Linked DNA regions of Homo sapiens: regions 1, 3, 4 and 5 are each linked to region 2. Evidence: promoter capture Hi-C in 16 types of primary human blood cells and fetal thymus (Javierre and others, 2016). All regions are on one chromosome and are shown on one strand. Each heading gives the region's core, a stretch centred on a gene start or on the middle of the fragment in contact. The rest is flanking DNA. Distances are from core to core; before and after follow the strand shown. Region 1 overlaps SHLD1 (shieldin complex subunit 1). Region 2 holds the start of TRMT6 (tRNA methyltransferase 6 non-catalytic subunit). Region 3 has its middle 15 kb from the start of LRRN4. Region 4 overlaps CRLS1 (cardiolipin synthase 1). Region 5 overlaps SHLD1 (shieldin complex subunit 1).

Region 1 (2,700 bases), core at 128-2,627, 120 kb before region 2:
AGAGGTTGCAGTGAGCCGAGATTGCGCCATTGCACTCCAGCCTGGGCAACAAGAGTGAAACTCCGTCTTAAAAAAAAAAAAAAAAAAGCAATGTAGGTGTTAGAATGGTGGTAAGTCTTAGAAGGTAATAGTTGAAAGGAGGCAAAAGGAGGTCTTCTGGGGTTCTGGTGCTGTTCTGTTTCTTGATCTCAGTGCTGATTATACTGGGTATATTCAGTTTGTAAAAGTTAATAGAGCTTATGATTTAGTATACCATGAATATTATATACCATGATTTGTAACTCAGCTCCTCTTATTACCGCTTAAATTTTATTTATTTATTTAATTTTTTAGGGACTACATTATGCATTAGGCACTTTGATATACGCACGTTATAATTTAATAAAAAGTAAAAAAAAATCAGTTTGAAAATAAGGCATTGCAATAATTTAAGGAAGAGTTGGTCACCATCCTTCTGTGCTTCACCTCTAGGTGGGTGCTTCGTGCTGGCTTATGAGAAAAGGAACACCACAGCAGTGCAGACCATTGAAAATGACAGTGATCCAAGGTTAAAGGTCACACAAGTATTTAATTGTCTTTAAGCAGAACTTTATTACCTACCAAAAGAAACTGTTGAGATACTTCAGCCTAGCCATGGTCTTTTTGTGAAGAACCATAAGCATTTATCCAACTCCCCACCTCCTTTGGGGGTCAACTCAGGTTTCTTGGCTCAGTGAAGTCTTTATAGCACCTCTAGCTTCTGTTCTCTGTAAGCTGTAATTTACAGCCATCATCAAAAGAGCATAGTTTAGCGGTTAATACTACTTTACGTATTTTATTTCTTTTGAATATTCCTTGACCACAAGTTCGTTGAAGCCAACAGCCCACCTTTCATATCTCCATTCAGGAGATATGAAAGGCTGTGCTGTTGCTTACATTTCTGGAACCATGTGGTGACTGGCCGGCAAACATTTAATAAATACTGGACAAGTGATGGACTGTGGCCTTGAAGAAACAGGAAGATGAACAGAAGCCCTACCTGAGGCAGCAGCAAAGATTCGCTTTTAAGTGACAGTAGTTGTGTTGCTTCCCTGGAGTTGTCTCCATTTCAGTTGCCGAATCCCTTTGATCTCTCTCTCTCTCTCTCTCTCAATTTTCTTGTTTACATGTTCATTGTAGAAGATTAGGAAATGTGAAATGTGAAAAAAGCACAAAGAAGAAAAAGGTAAACACTCATAATCCTTCTACAGAGGGAAGCTCTTACTATTTTGTTGTATTTTTTTTTCTTCTTTGGCTTTTCCTATAATACATGTGCTTTCATGCTCTCTGCCCCGTGTTCCCCACCCTTTCTTTTCATTTCTTTCTTTGAAACGGAGCCTTGCTCTTTTGCCCAAGCTGGAATGCTGTGCAGCTGTCTTGGCAACCTCCGCCTACCTGCTTCAAGTGATCCTCCCACCTCAGCCTCGCAGGTAGCTGGGATTACAAGCGCGCACCACTGCGCCCAGCAAATTTTTGTATTTTCAATAGCGATGGGGTTTCACCATGTTGGCCAGGCTGGTCTCAAACTCCTGGCCTCAAGTGATCTGCCCACCTTGGCTTCCCAAAGTGCTGGGATTACAAGCATGAGCCTCTGCGCTGGGCCTCTCTTCATTTCTAGAGAATAATGGAAGTGAATCCAGGAGACAGACTTCTCCACATTGTTAAAAGCTCCTCGGGCAGAGTGGAACTGCACGTGTTGCCACTTTGATTTTCTTTACTCCAAATACAAAGGTGTAACTTGGATTAAGATCGGGGCTTTCACGTCTTGCTGGAAAATAGTAAGCCATAATTTGTAACTCAGCTCCTCTTATTCACCACTTAAATTTTATTTATTTAATTTTCTTTTTTAGAGACAGGATCTTGCTATGTTGCCTGGGTTGGTCTCAAACTCCTGGGCTCAAGTGATCCACCTGCCTCAGTCTCCTGAATAGCTGGGACTATAGGCATGTGTCATCACACCCAGCTACGGCTTAAATTTTTAAGATTAGTTTGGCTAGTATATACATTATGCTCCAAATCACGAAAAAAAAGTATTCTTCCGGGGTAAAACCATGCAGTCTACTAATATAATCATCCTCAGTCTCATCCTGAAAGCAGGGATCATACAAACCTGCTCAGCCTGCATGTGTACCCCTGAACTTAAAAGCTGGAAATCAAAATAATAAATAAATAAATAAATAAATAAATAAATAAATAAATAAATAAATAAATGGGGAAAAAAGCAGGTATCCAACATATTTTAGACCTTAAAATCCCATTAATCCTGGTCCTCTCCTGAGAATTATAACAGAAGATTTGCTTTTCCAGGTAGAGGGTATCTGAGCAGTTGTGCAAGGCTGTGCTGTTGCTTACATTTCTGGAACCATGCGGTGACTGGCCAGTGTTGCATGGCTGACGTGTCCTCCTTCTCCTGACCTGGAGCTCCTGGGCTGCTGTGCTCCTGGTGCATACACCATACAGTGCTAGTACTCTTGCTCTTTCCTCCTAAAAATAGACTCCTAAAACAGTCCTAAAATAGACTCCTCGGCTTCTCTCCTTTTTGACTTTTTTTCCACGAGACTCCTCTGAGCTTGTCCCCAGTTTTGCTTTAGACTCCTGAAATATTTATTTGTTTTTTAATATCTTAACTTTTATTTTAGGTTGAGGGGTACACGTGCAGGTTTATTATATAGGTAAACTCAC
Region 2 (2,700 bases), core at 131-2,630:
GATCAGCCTGGCCAACATGGTGAAACCCCGTCTCTACTAAAAATACAAAAAAAAAAAAAAAAGATTAGCCGAGTGTGATGGTGCCAGAGTCCCAGCCACTAGGGAGGCTGAGGCAGGAGAATCGCTTGAACCTCGGAGGCAGAGGCTGCAATGAGCCGAGATTGCACTACTGCCCTAAAGCCTGGGTGACAAAGCAAGACTCCGTCTCAAAAACAAAAACACTGTGGTTGTATTTCTCAGATAAATTAATCCAAATATCCCAATAAATTTTCACCATTAATAAGCTCTTAGGACTTAACAACCTCACCAGCCCTTCCAGAAAGTTATCAAAATCCCACTTCTTTACTTCTATAAAACAGAGCGATACTAGCCAGCAGGTGCACAAACCAAACCTAATTTGGAGTTCTGAGGCCTTGAGCAAATTGCTTTTTAGCAATTTTCCCAGCGTTGAATCCTTTGGTGAGTAAAACGAGGGAAACTCAAAGTGATTCCACACTCTGTGGTGAATTGTCTCCTTCATCTATTCTGTGTATCCTGCTTGGGTAGAGAAGAGGATAGAAAGCCAGACTAGGTAGGAGACGTTTCATTTTTTGTGGGATAGATCCTGACTGGGGGATTAGGGAAGAAGGAGGATCTATGGTGGAAAAAAAGGGGGAACCTGAAGGAGACTCTGGAGACAAGGATGAGATCCTAAAGTGAAGAAAGGAGGGGGTGTCTCTGGAAAGACAGTGAAGATCCCAAGGTCCTAGGGAAAGAACTTCAGGACAGGTGATTAGGGTGTGGAGAGGGAGGCATTGGCACCCTAGGGCCAAGAATGGAATTCTGGGGAAGGAACTCTGTGGAAAGACTGAAAAGGATGCTGAAGGTGGACGGCCAGATATGAAATCATGGAGGGGGCTCCGGGAAAAACAGGAGGGTTAAGGGAGATTATGAGGTTCGAAGACGGGATCCTGGTGGAAAAGCCTTCTGTGACAGAAAGACCCGAGGAGACAACGAGGGCGGGGAATGGGGACCGAGAGAGCCAAGAATGGCACCCTGGCGGAAGAATTCTGTGGAGAAACCTGGAGGGAGGGGGTATCTACAAGGTGGGGGCGGGAGACCCCTAAAATCAGCGATCTGACTTACTTTCTCCGCTGGACTTGTACTGCTTTAAACACATCTTCACGTTTCAGCACCACGAAGTCGCCGTCGCGGATGCGGTGGTCTCCGGGATGCTGTGGTTGTGGGCCCGGCTGCTCCCCTGAGCCCTCCATGACGCTCAGCCGGTCGCCGTGCTCCACGGCGTCCCGCCCCTCCTCCTCGGTTGTCGCCACCGCCAGCCTCACTTCCCACAACCTGGCGCACTAGGAGCCCTCCGACCGGCACCGCCCCCACGTGTTGCACGCCGCTTCCGCTTTCCGGCCCAGACCTCAAGACCGCTTCCGGAAGCCTCTCGGCTTCCGTCTGGCCAAACTCCTTGATTGGCTGCACTCCGCCCCGCCCCTCTCGTCTTGCCGCTTCTTTGAGCGGAAGTTGGATCACTGAAGCGCCAAAAAAGAATTTAGGGGAAGACCTGATTTTCGCTTGAGGCATTTTTGCGGCGCTGTGCGCTACAGACACCTTCTGGAAGCTGCGGTGGGGAAACTGAGTTTCCCGAGCCGTTGAGACAGATGGGGTTCAGCACCGCGCGGGGACGACAGGAAAGCTGCGGCTGAAGAGAACTGCGGACTTGGCAGGAGTCGCCTGAGGAGCTAAGATCCCGGAGACTCTTAGCCCCGTGGTGCTTCTCTACGGGAGGGAGGGAGGGAGAATCCGGCCGGACAGATCTGCGCGTATCCTGGAGCCGGCCCAGTTGTGAACTAGGAGAGCTTTGGGACCTCTGTCCCAAGCAAGTAAGAACTTTAGCCTTAGGAGATGTAAATAAAGTAGTATTTGAAGAAGCACAGGTACCCAACTGTTTCTTTTTACTCTTTCTCCAGTCCTACTTCTTAACGTTTTTTTGAATTTGTTACTGTTCTCAGCATATTGTCTCGTTTGAGAAGGGTATGGCACGCAGCGTTGTTGAAGGAGCGCCTCAGCTTGGGAGGCTGAAAGTTTTATCTCTGTACTGTCGACAAACAACTTTGATCTTGATCGGTTTGCTTAATTTCTTTGAGCATCAGTTTCATAATGTGTAATGCCTAATTATTGGAGCCCTGTCATGCCGTTAAATCGTGAACTTTCTAGTTACTATCTTGTTTTATTAACTAAACCCCTTTTAAGTAAGGATTTGGGTAGAGTATTTGATAATGAATTGCACTGCAGCGTACAGGTATATCTTTATTTACTTGTATACTTAGGATATGAATCATTTTTAAGTAGACGTGTATTTTATAAGAACAGTTTTGGATTTACAGAAAAACTGCACAAAAAATGGATGTGACACTGCAGGATTGACTGTATGTAAGAAGCTATGATGATGTATCCCTAGTGTCTCACAGGCCAGAATTATGTTCATCCTGTCCTGCCCTATAATAAGAAGTCTCAAATACTGCAAATAAGTTTTCATAGAGTTAATTACCTGTCCTATTTTCATTTCTGTAATGGGGACTTGTAAACAGGTACAGTACCTGTCCTTATTTTTAACCTGTGAGCGTCTAGTATACGTAAACCATATTTAATAGTTATTAAACTATTATGGTATACCTTAAAAAGCGATAGAGATTAGAAACTTAACTGCAG
Region 3 (2,700 bases), core at 126-2,625, 120 kb after region 2:
GAAAATGGTTTTGGGTAAAAAATGGTGTTGGCCACAATTGCAATCTGCTCATTTTAGTTCTGCAGCAGCTGATTTTAGGTATGGCACAGTGGCTCATGCCATATATAAATGGCCGGGTGCGGTGGCTCATGCCTATAACCCTAGCACCTTGGGAGGCTGAGGCCAGTGGATCTCCTGAGCTCAGGAGTTCAAGACCAGTCTGGGCAACATGGCGAAACCCTGTCTCTACCAAAATCACAAAAAATTAGCCAGGTGTGGTGGTGCGTGCCTGTGGTCTCAGCTACTTGGGAGGCTGAGGTGGGAGGATTGCTTGAGCGTAGAGGTGGAGGTTGCAGTGAGCTGAGATGGCACTGCTGCACTCCAGCCTGGGTGACAGAATGAGACCCCATCTCAAACAAAACAAAGCAAAAACCATAATCATGAATACTAAGGGCATGCCTCACAAATCCCTGTGGTCTCATATCTGACCAACTGTGCCCATGTATGTTTCTTACCCCAACACACAGTAACATGTGCAGCCCCTTATCTTAAAAGGGTGAACTTTGCTTGAGTTACATGCAATGGATTCAGCAGGTTCTTGCCAAGTGTTGGCTGCCTGTTTGCTCTCCTGATGTCTACCTGATTAAAAGAACCTTATAAAAGGAGGAAAAGGTCAGGGTAAAAACATTTCATGCAGCCTCTAGAAACAGAACTCAGTCCCTTAGGAAAAGTCACCTCTCTCTGGTAGGACTTGGCACCAACGATTGCCACACACTAGTGAGAGTTGGGCCAACCAGTTGTAGGGGTGGAAAGTCCTCTGGTTTGGTGTCGTCTTTGTCGGGAAAAAAGGCAGAACCCTTTCCTCCCCTTCTTAACTCCACCTCTCACCCAGATTTGCAAGCAAACGTTACATTGGACCAACAGTGGGAATCTGAGAACTTTTTAGCAGAAATTTTCACTATTTTGGCATTTGAAACCTAGTGTAAAGTAATTGGAAGAAAAAAGTGTCTATGGAGTTCTGTAGGTCTTACTCAAACATGTTCTGAGAAAAATCAACTCAAGGACATTGTCACGAGTAAAGACTATCTAGGGTCCTTGGCTCCGGAGGCCTTGCCTTCTCATGGGAAATCAAGAGTAGTGTTGAGGAGCAAGCTCAAGTCAGAAGATTTTCATACAAATCCTTGCTTCCCACATACTAGCTGAGTGACTTTGACAAGTTGCTTGACCTCTCTGTGCACAGTTCCGATGTGTGCTGGAGCTGGTTTATCCCCACTGGAAAGACGGATGTTTGCATTTCTTCCCAACTCTGTGTTCACTGACATCATGTTGGCTGTGGTGGGAATCTTTATACCATGGGAATTGGCAAATCAGTGTTTCCCCAGTCCACAGAGTTGTAAACATTTACCAGTGCACCACTGCATGTTTTCTACTTTGTACAATGGGCTGATAATACCTTCCTCACCTAGGGGATGAATTGAGAGAACTCATAGGAGACAAAAGTGATAGCCCTTAATACACACGAGTTTTCTAATTCTTTTAGCCATGTAAATGTTTGCTATATTATTGTTGAGACTGCTTTTTGGAGAGGTGGGAGCTGATTTCACTTGCTCTATCATTGGTTTGCAAAGCCACTTACCATTTTGGTATCCCTGTTGCTCCTGGGGCCTATTTGACTGCTATGGCAACCTGTCAACCTACCCTGAAATTCAGCAAATTATTTAACCTGATGGCATGGCCGGAATAATGGGGTTGTGTTGGCAGAGAGACACCGGAGTCTCTGAAGAAAACACATGCATGATACAAAGGTCCCAGATTATTACACCTGAGTCGGGGATATATCTTGACCTGATTGTGGTGGAGATGGACTGTAATCAATGGAGGACTACAATGGCATGGTCTCAGCTCACTGCAACCTCCACCTCCCAGGTTCAAGTGATTCTCCTGTCTCAGCCTCCCAAGTAGCTGGGATTACAGGTGCGCTCCACTTCGCCTGGCTAATTTTTGTATTTTTAGTAGAGATGGGGTTTCTCCATGTTGGTCAGGCTGATCTTGAACTCCTGACCTCAGGTGATCCACCTGCCTTGGCCTCCCAAAGTGCTGGGATTACAGGCGTGAGCCACTGTGCCTGGCCAATTTCCATGAATTTCAAATGGCTTAATAGATAGCTTATTAAAATACAAAAACAAAAACCAGGAGACAGGATGGTATAAAGATGAGAAAGACACACTCTGAAATGCCATCAGCTGTGTCTTAGGATACCGCTAGAATGGGATAGATTTCTTATTCTCCTTTTTGGGGATATCTCATCCTGCATTAGTCAGCTATTCCACAATGATGCTGCTTAACACACTGCTCCAGAACTCAGTGGCTTACAATAACAAGAATTTGTTCCCACACAAATTGTCTGTGGGTCAGCTGATCTAGCTCGGCTTGGCTCCAGGCTGTGGACTCCATTTAGATCTGCTACATGGATTCCATTCAGTGGCTCAGGTGATGACCTGGGGAATCCTGTTCTCACAGTGGAGGCAGGAGTGCAAAAGGATTGCAAAAGCACAGTGGCAGCCTCTGGGCCAAAGGAAGTCAAACGGCCAAGTCCAACAGTAAGTGGGCAGGTAGTATGTGCCACCCATGGTAGGAGAGGAGAGGGGAGAAAATATTTGCTGAACAATGATCCAAACTGTCACACAAACCATCACACTTATTTGAAAATAAGCTGATAAA
Region 4 (2,700 bases), core at 106-2,605, 86 kb after region 2:
TTTTACTTCTTTAAGGTGATGCAAGAACTTAAAACATTTGCAAAGCAGTCTAAGAACTGTTTAGATATTTTCCCTAGTCTTTTCACAATCATCTTGTCTATTTATTTTGACAGTATTTTTTTCCCCTAGGAACCCATGAAGAGAGAGACAGTATTTTTTTTTTAATCAAGTCACCTTTATTGAGTCTTTCTAAAGCATCCAATGTAGTTTTCAGAAATAGCAATTAAAAAAATTTTTATTTTATTTTTTTGGAGACAGGGTCTTGCTCTGTCACCCAGCCTGTAGTACAGTGGCATGATCATAGCTCACTGTAACCTTGAATTCCTGGCCTCAAGCGATCCTTCAGCTTCAGCCTCCTGAGTAGCTGGGATTACAGGCATGTGCCACCACCACACCTGGCTATTTTTTTTTAATTAATTAATTTATTTATTTTTGAGACAGAGTCTCGCTCTGTTGCCCAGGCTGGAGTGCAATGGCCTGATCTCAGCTCACTGCAACCTCTACCACCCGGGTTCAAGCGATTCTCCTGCCTCAGCCTCCTGAGTAGCTGGGATTACAGGCGCCCACCACCATACCTGGCCAATTTTTGTATTTTTAGTAAAGGCGGGATTTCACCTTGTTGGTCAGGCTGGTCTCGAACTCCTGGCCTCAGTTGATCCACCCGCCTCAGCCTCTCAAAGTGCTGGGATTACAGGTGTGAGCCACTGTGCCCAGCCACTAATTTTTTGTATTATTATTTTTTGTAGAAACAGGGTCTCACTATGTTGCCCAGGCTGGTCTCAAACTCTTGGCCTCAAACAATCCTCCTGCCTCGGCCTGCCAAAGTGGTAGGATTATAGTCATGAGCCACTGCGTCCAGCTAGAAATAGCAATTTTTCTAACACATATATTTCATTGGTTTATGTATGAATTTAGAATATCAAAGTGGCATGAACAGGTTCAAGATCCAACAAAAGGGAATCTTGATTCTGCCTCACCTAATAAAAGCAGAAGTGCGTGGGCGCACTAAAAAGTAATCTAGCTGTGGGCATGCAGCATGCCATGGGTGTCAGGTGATGTCATTTCAAGGAGAATCCGGTTAAGGGTAGTTTGGTAAAGAAAGCTGAAATTTATTTAAAATGACTCAGGTATCTTTAGAATTCTCAAAAGCTGCAGGAAATAAGAGTCTGGTACCCTGAGAAGCATGGGGCAGTAGAAAGAGCATGTGGGCTTTAGAGTTCAAACGAAGTCAGGCTCAAACATAGTTCTGTGATAAGCCCTGAGCAAGTTACCCGGGTCTTCCATTTCCCCCTTCTGGAGAAGTCCTTTGGAGGATGAGTCCTTCTGGAGGATGAGTCCTTCTGGAGGATGAAGTCCTTCTGGAGGATGAGTTCGTTGTAAGAATAAAATGAGAATGTAAGACACCTAGAGGATGCCCGAGTAAAAAATGACAGTTGCTAGTAGTAGTAATTTGTAGGGCTCATTATCTAGAATAATTTTGTTTGACGTTACTAATTAAAATGAACTCTTAAAGAAAAGCAGTGTATTTAGACTCTTGTAGTTAAGAAAAATTACACCACAGAGCCCTTTTTACTTTTTAAATTCATTTTTACATTTTAAATTCATTGCATGTATTCATTATGATTCCCGTTGCTACTATTTTTTAGACTTGACAACTACATTTTATTTCTTTTCTTCCATAAAAGGTGTTTTACAGCTTTCACCACAGCTGCATCAGCTTATAGTTACTATCATTATGGCCGGAAGACTGTTCAGGTGATAAAAGACTGATGAAAGTCATCCCTCACTGTTAGTAAGGAAGCAGTATACATCAATGGGAACAGGGCCCATGGAAATGTACAGGAGTTTCCCTATTTTGGTGTTCAGCTTGAAAAAGGACTTGTCAGAATCAACTGTGTCATCAAAATTTAAGTAATGTGCATTGAAAATAAGGTTGATCATGGGAATATGCAGAATTTCCAATGTATTTTTAAATACAAATAAAATTGTAATTTAGAATTTTTAATCTTAGGTTTCTTGATTAATTTATAAGAGATCAATTATTGTCAGTCTTTTTTGTATGTTTTTTAAAAACATAGTCCAGAGCATGGGCAGAATTGACACCTCTCTTTTAAGTGAAATTTGGATTGCTCACAAAGCACTAGGAAATGTCATGGGGTTCAAATATATATCCTACACAACTGGGCAATACATTTTTGTTTGATTTTTAGGTCTGTGTATACATTAACAGTTCATGTAATTAATACCTGATCATTTGGGATAATGAAAGTGAAGTTAGTTGTAGATGAAGTAAAGTTATAAAAGAGATTAAAAATGCGGTAACTTTTTAAGATAATAATCATACAGAAGGTATGAAGTTCATTTTCGGTAGTCTTCCAACCTCTCAGGTGCCTAATAATTTATGTTTGAGGATAACAGGTAACAAAGATAGTCGAGATAGGAGAACGTGTCTATTAGTCTTTGCATCTAAAAGGCAGTGAGTTACGTTCCTGCCTTCCACTGTGTTTCTGACATAGCAATGTTTGTTTGATATTGGAACCTGGATTCATATTTTATGTAAATAATATCAAGCTGTATATTTTTCAAAGGTTTTTTAAACTTTGGAGACTCTTTCTTTTGTTAAGCAGTTAAAGGAATAAAAGAGCTGGAAAAAAAATTGTACCTTCAACTCAGGTTGTTCCATATAACATACGTATTCTC
Region 5 (2,700 bases), core at 63-2,562, 100 kb before region 2:
GTCCTCTGCTCATGGCATCTGTGTGTCATTAGGATGAAGGGTGATAGCATATGCCACTTTCCCTCTGAGTGATTCATCCAGTTTGAACTTTCAGATATAAACAAGTACAGAGACTGTGGTTTCAAAAGCACCTGACCAAACCATCCATCCCTTTGAAATGTTAATTTGTATTAAATATCTTGATATCCACACACTCTCACTTTGTGAGGATGTGGTTTTGTCCTTTAAAGGAACAGTTGCAAATTCTAAAATATATGAATCGTGGAAGGCAGGGTTGCTATTAGGAAAAAGGAAGCTTAAGTTTATTGTTTTTCTGTAACTAATTTTATGTAACTAATAAGATAGGATGTAAGGTGCCCTAGAACTCCAACCCTGGTGTTACGACGCAGCAGGGAAAAGCCAGACTAAACCAGAAAGAGAACTCCAGCGAGGTGCCGATGGTTCAGAGTGAATCAGGGCCAATTCACTTGCTGGACAGTAACCAAAAGGTTTGTACAGCTAGGAAGTGGGAGAAATGCCAGTGGTGAAAACAGGGAAAAGGAAAGGAGGATTGGCTTGGAGTGTCATAGGACAAATCCGTGGAGGTTTAGCCAAAAACAAAAGTCTGTAGACACCTTATTGTTTATAACATGGACTGGGATGATTTCCAGCATCAAATCTCAGCCCTCTGGGACATAACTGTGTGGTAGGAACTTTCCACTGTTAACCCAGGTATATCAGCCCCACTCCTCCAGCACCAGGTTGCATAATGTGTCATAATACATGTATACATGTAATGAATTGTGTGATCAAGGGCCCTCTAGAAAATGAAAAGGGGTGCCATTAATAATTCATTGAGGGGCCGGGCGCGGTGGCTCACGCCTGTAATCCCAGCACTTTGGGAGGCCGAGGCGGGTGGATCATGAGGTCAGGAGATCGAGACCATCCTGGCTAACAAGGTGAAACCCCGTCTCTACTAAAAATACAAAAAATTAGCCGGGCGCGGTGGCGGGCGCCTGTAGTCCCAGCTACTCGGGAGGCTGAGGCAGGAGAATGGCGTGAACCCGGGAAGCGGAGCTTGCAGTGAGCCGAGATTCCGCCACTGCAGTCCGCAGTCCGGCCTGGGCGACAGAGCGAGACTCCGTCTCAAAAAAAAAAAAAAAAAAAAAAAATTCATTGAGGCTAGGGTGATGGCTTATGCCTGTAATCTCAGCACTTTGGGAGGCCGGAGCAGGAGGATCACCTGAGCCCAGGAATTCAAGACCAGCCTGGGCAACACAGCAAGACCCCGTCTCAATAATAATAATAATAATAATAATAATAATAATAATAATTAACTGAGACAACAGGCCTAAACCAGGACTGTCCTGGGCAAACTTTCCAGTCACTCTATTGAGTACCAGTCCCTCTAGTAAGAGCACACGTTTATGGAAAGGAATGCCTGAAGTTGAAAGGTTAGCAGAAGTGTTTACCTGGCTTCTTAGTCTAGCCCCCACGCCCTCCAGAGCCTAACCCCATTTCTTCCTCTCTTGTAAGGATTCTCTGCACCTTCCAGACCACCTCTCACTAGGCTCTTGGGCATTCTCATGTCTGCACCTAGCACTGGGCTTCCCCTCCCTGAAGTAACTTTCTTCCTCGACCTGGTCTGTCTGAGGATGACTTGCCTTCCCAGTTCCAGCTTTTTTTAGTTTTAATTTTTTTTTTTTTTTTTGAGATGGAGTCTTGCTCTGTCGCCCAAGTGGGAGTGCAGTGGTGTGATCTCGGCTCACTGCAACCTCCACCTCCCGGGTTCAAGCAATTCTCCTGCCTCAGCCTCCCGAGTAGCTGGGATTACAGGTGTGTGCCACCACACCCAGCTAATTTTTGTATTTTTAGTAGAGACGAGGGTTTCACCATGTTGGCCAGACTGGTCTCTAACTCCTGACCTCGCGATCTTCTTGCCTGGGCCTCCCAAAGTGCTGGGATTACAGGCATGAGCCAACGCACCTGGCGCCCAGTCCCAGCTTTACTTCTCATCCGGCTTTACTCTGCATTGCCTCCTGGAACTTGGCCATCCTTCACTGAGCTGAACCTGTGCCTTGGCTGGTCGATGCTCCATAATTATTGAGTATGAAAGGGAGGGACAAGTGGGCCACTTTGGAAGGCTGGTCCTTGCTTCTTTGCAGGAGTGGTCTCCAGGGGCAGCTGGCCAAGGAGGACAATACAGCACACAGACCAACTAGTATGGACGTCTCATGCTCTCTAACAGTGGGGGACATTGTAGCACAGCACAAATCAACATGGCTGCCATCCGAATGCCACCTGATCTCTGGGAGCTTCAACACAAATCTTCAGGAAAGATTATTGGAACCAAAGCTTTCTTAAACCACAACTATAAAGAATGTCTATCCAGGAATGGTGGCTCATATTTGTAATCTCAGCTACTTGGGAGCCTGAGGCCAGAGGATCACTTAAGCCCAGGAGTTTGAGACCAGCCTGACCAACATGGTGAGACCCCATCTCTACAAAAAATTTTTAAATATTAGCTGGGCATCATGGTGGTGCATGCCTGCAGTTCTAGCTACTCAGGAGGCTGAGGTGGGAGGATCCCTTGAACCTAGGACTTCGAGGCTACAGTGATCTATGATCATGCCACTCTGCTCTAGCTTAGGTAACAGAGTGAGACCCCTGTCTCCTTAAAAAAAAAAAAAAGAAAAGAGAAGTCTACACCAGCCGTTGTCC

The links. The method cuts DNA at HindIII sites, captures the fragments that hold promoters and counts their contacts. A CHiCAGO score of 5 or more calls a contact.
Region 1: a contact is called between a fragment that was not itself captured here and the fragment with the promoter of TRMT6 in region 2, in 8 of 17 cell types (naive CD4 T cells, total CD8 T cells, naive CD8 T cells and 5 more). The highest score is 14.2, in naive CD4 T cells.
Region 3: a fragment that was not itself captured here is called in contact with the fragment with the promoter of TRMT6 in region 2 in 1 of 17 cell types (megakaryocytes); the score reaches 6.2 in megakaryocytes.
Region 4: a contact is called between a fragment that was not itself captured here and the fragment with the promoter of TRMT6 in region 2, in 1 of 17 cell types (naive CD4 T cells). The highest score is 6.6, in naive CD4 T cells.
Region 5: a fragment that was not itself captured here is called in contact with the fragment with the promoter of TRMT6 in region 2 in 2 of 17 cell types (naive CD4 T cells and total CD8 T cells); the score reaches 5.5 in naive CD4 T cells.

What each region holds. Positions count from the first base shown.
Region 1 is chr20:5,830,620-5,833,319 of GRCh38, forward strand. The region is part of intron 2 of SHLD1 (shieldin complex subunit 1); the gene reads left to right. Among named protein-coding and RNA genes, the nearest start is that of CHGB, 80 kb to the right of the region's middle. The HindIII fragment of the contact is 5,167 bases long and covers 1-2,700 here.
Region 2 is chr20:5,949,153-5,951,852 of GRCh38, forward strand. TRMT6 (tRNA methyltransferase 6 non-catalytic subunit) reads right to left here and starts at 1,381. Exons shown (of 11, transcript NM_015939.5): 1 at 1,126-1,381. The coding sequence starts at 1,253. MCM8 (minichromosome maintenance 8 homologous recombination repair factor) reads left to right here and starts at 1,500. Exons shown (of 19, transcript NM_032485.6): 1 at 1,500-1,871. RefSeq lists an enhancer at 1,377-1,516. The HindIII fragment of the contact is 3,685 bases long and covers 1-2,700 here.
Region 3 is chr20:6,067,378-6,070,077 of GRCh38, forward strand. No RefSeq gene overlaps it. Among named protein-coding and RNA genes, the nearest start is that of LRRN4, 15 kb to the left of the region's middle. The HindIII fragment of the contact is 9,893 bases long and covers 1-2,700 here.
Region 4 is chr20:6,035,389-6,038,088 of GRCh38, forward strand. It overlaps CRLS1 (cardiolipin synthase 1), which reads left to right. Exons shown (of 7, transcript NM_019095.6): 7 at 1,686-2,700. The coding sequence ends at 1,770. Among named protein-coding and RNA genes, the nearest start is that of LRRN4, 17 kb to the right of the region's middle. The HindIII fragment of the contact is 4,678 bases long and covers 1-2,700 here.
Region 5 is chr20:5,848,839-5,851,538 of GRCh38, forward strand. The region is part of intron 2 of SHLD1 (shieldin complex subunit 1); the gene reads left to right. Among named protein-coding and RNA genes, the nearest start is that of CHGB, 61 kb to the right of the region's middle. The HindIII fragment of the contact is 2,039 bases long and covers 294-2,332 here.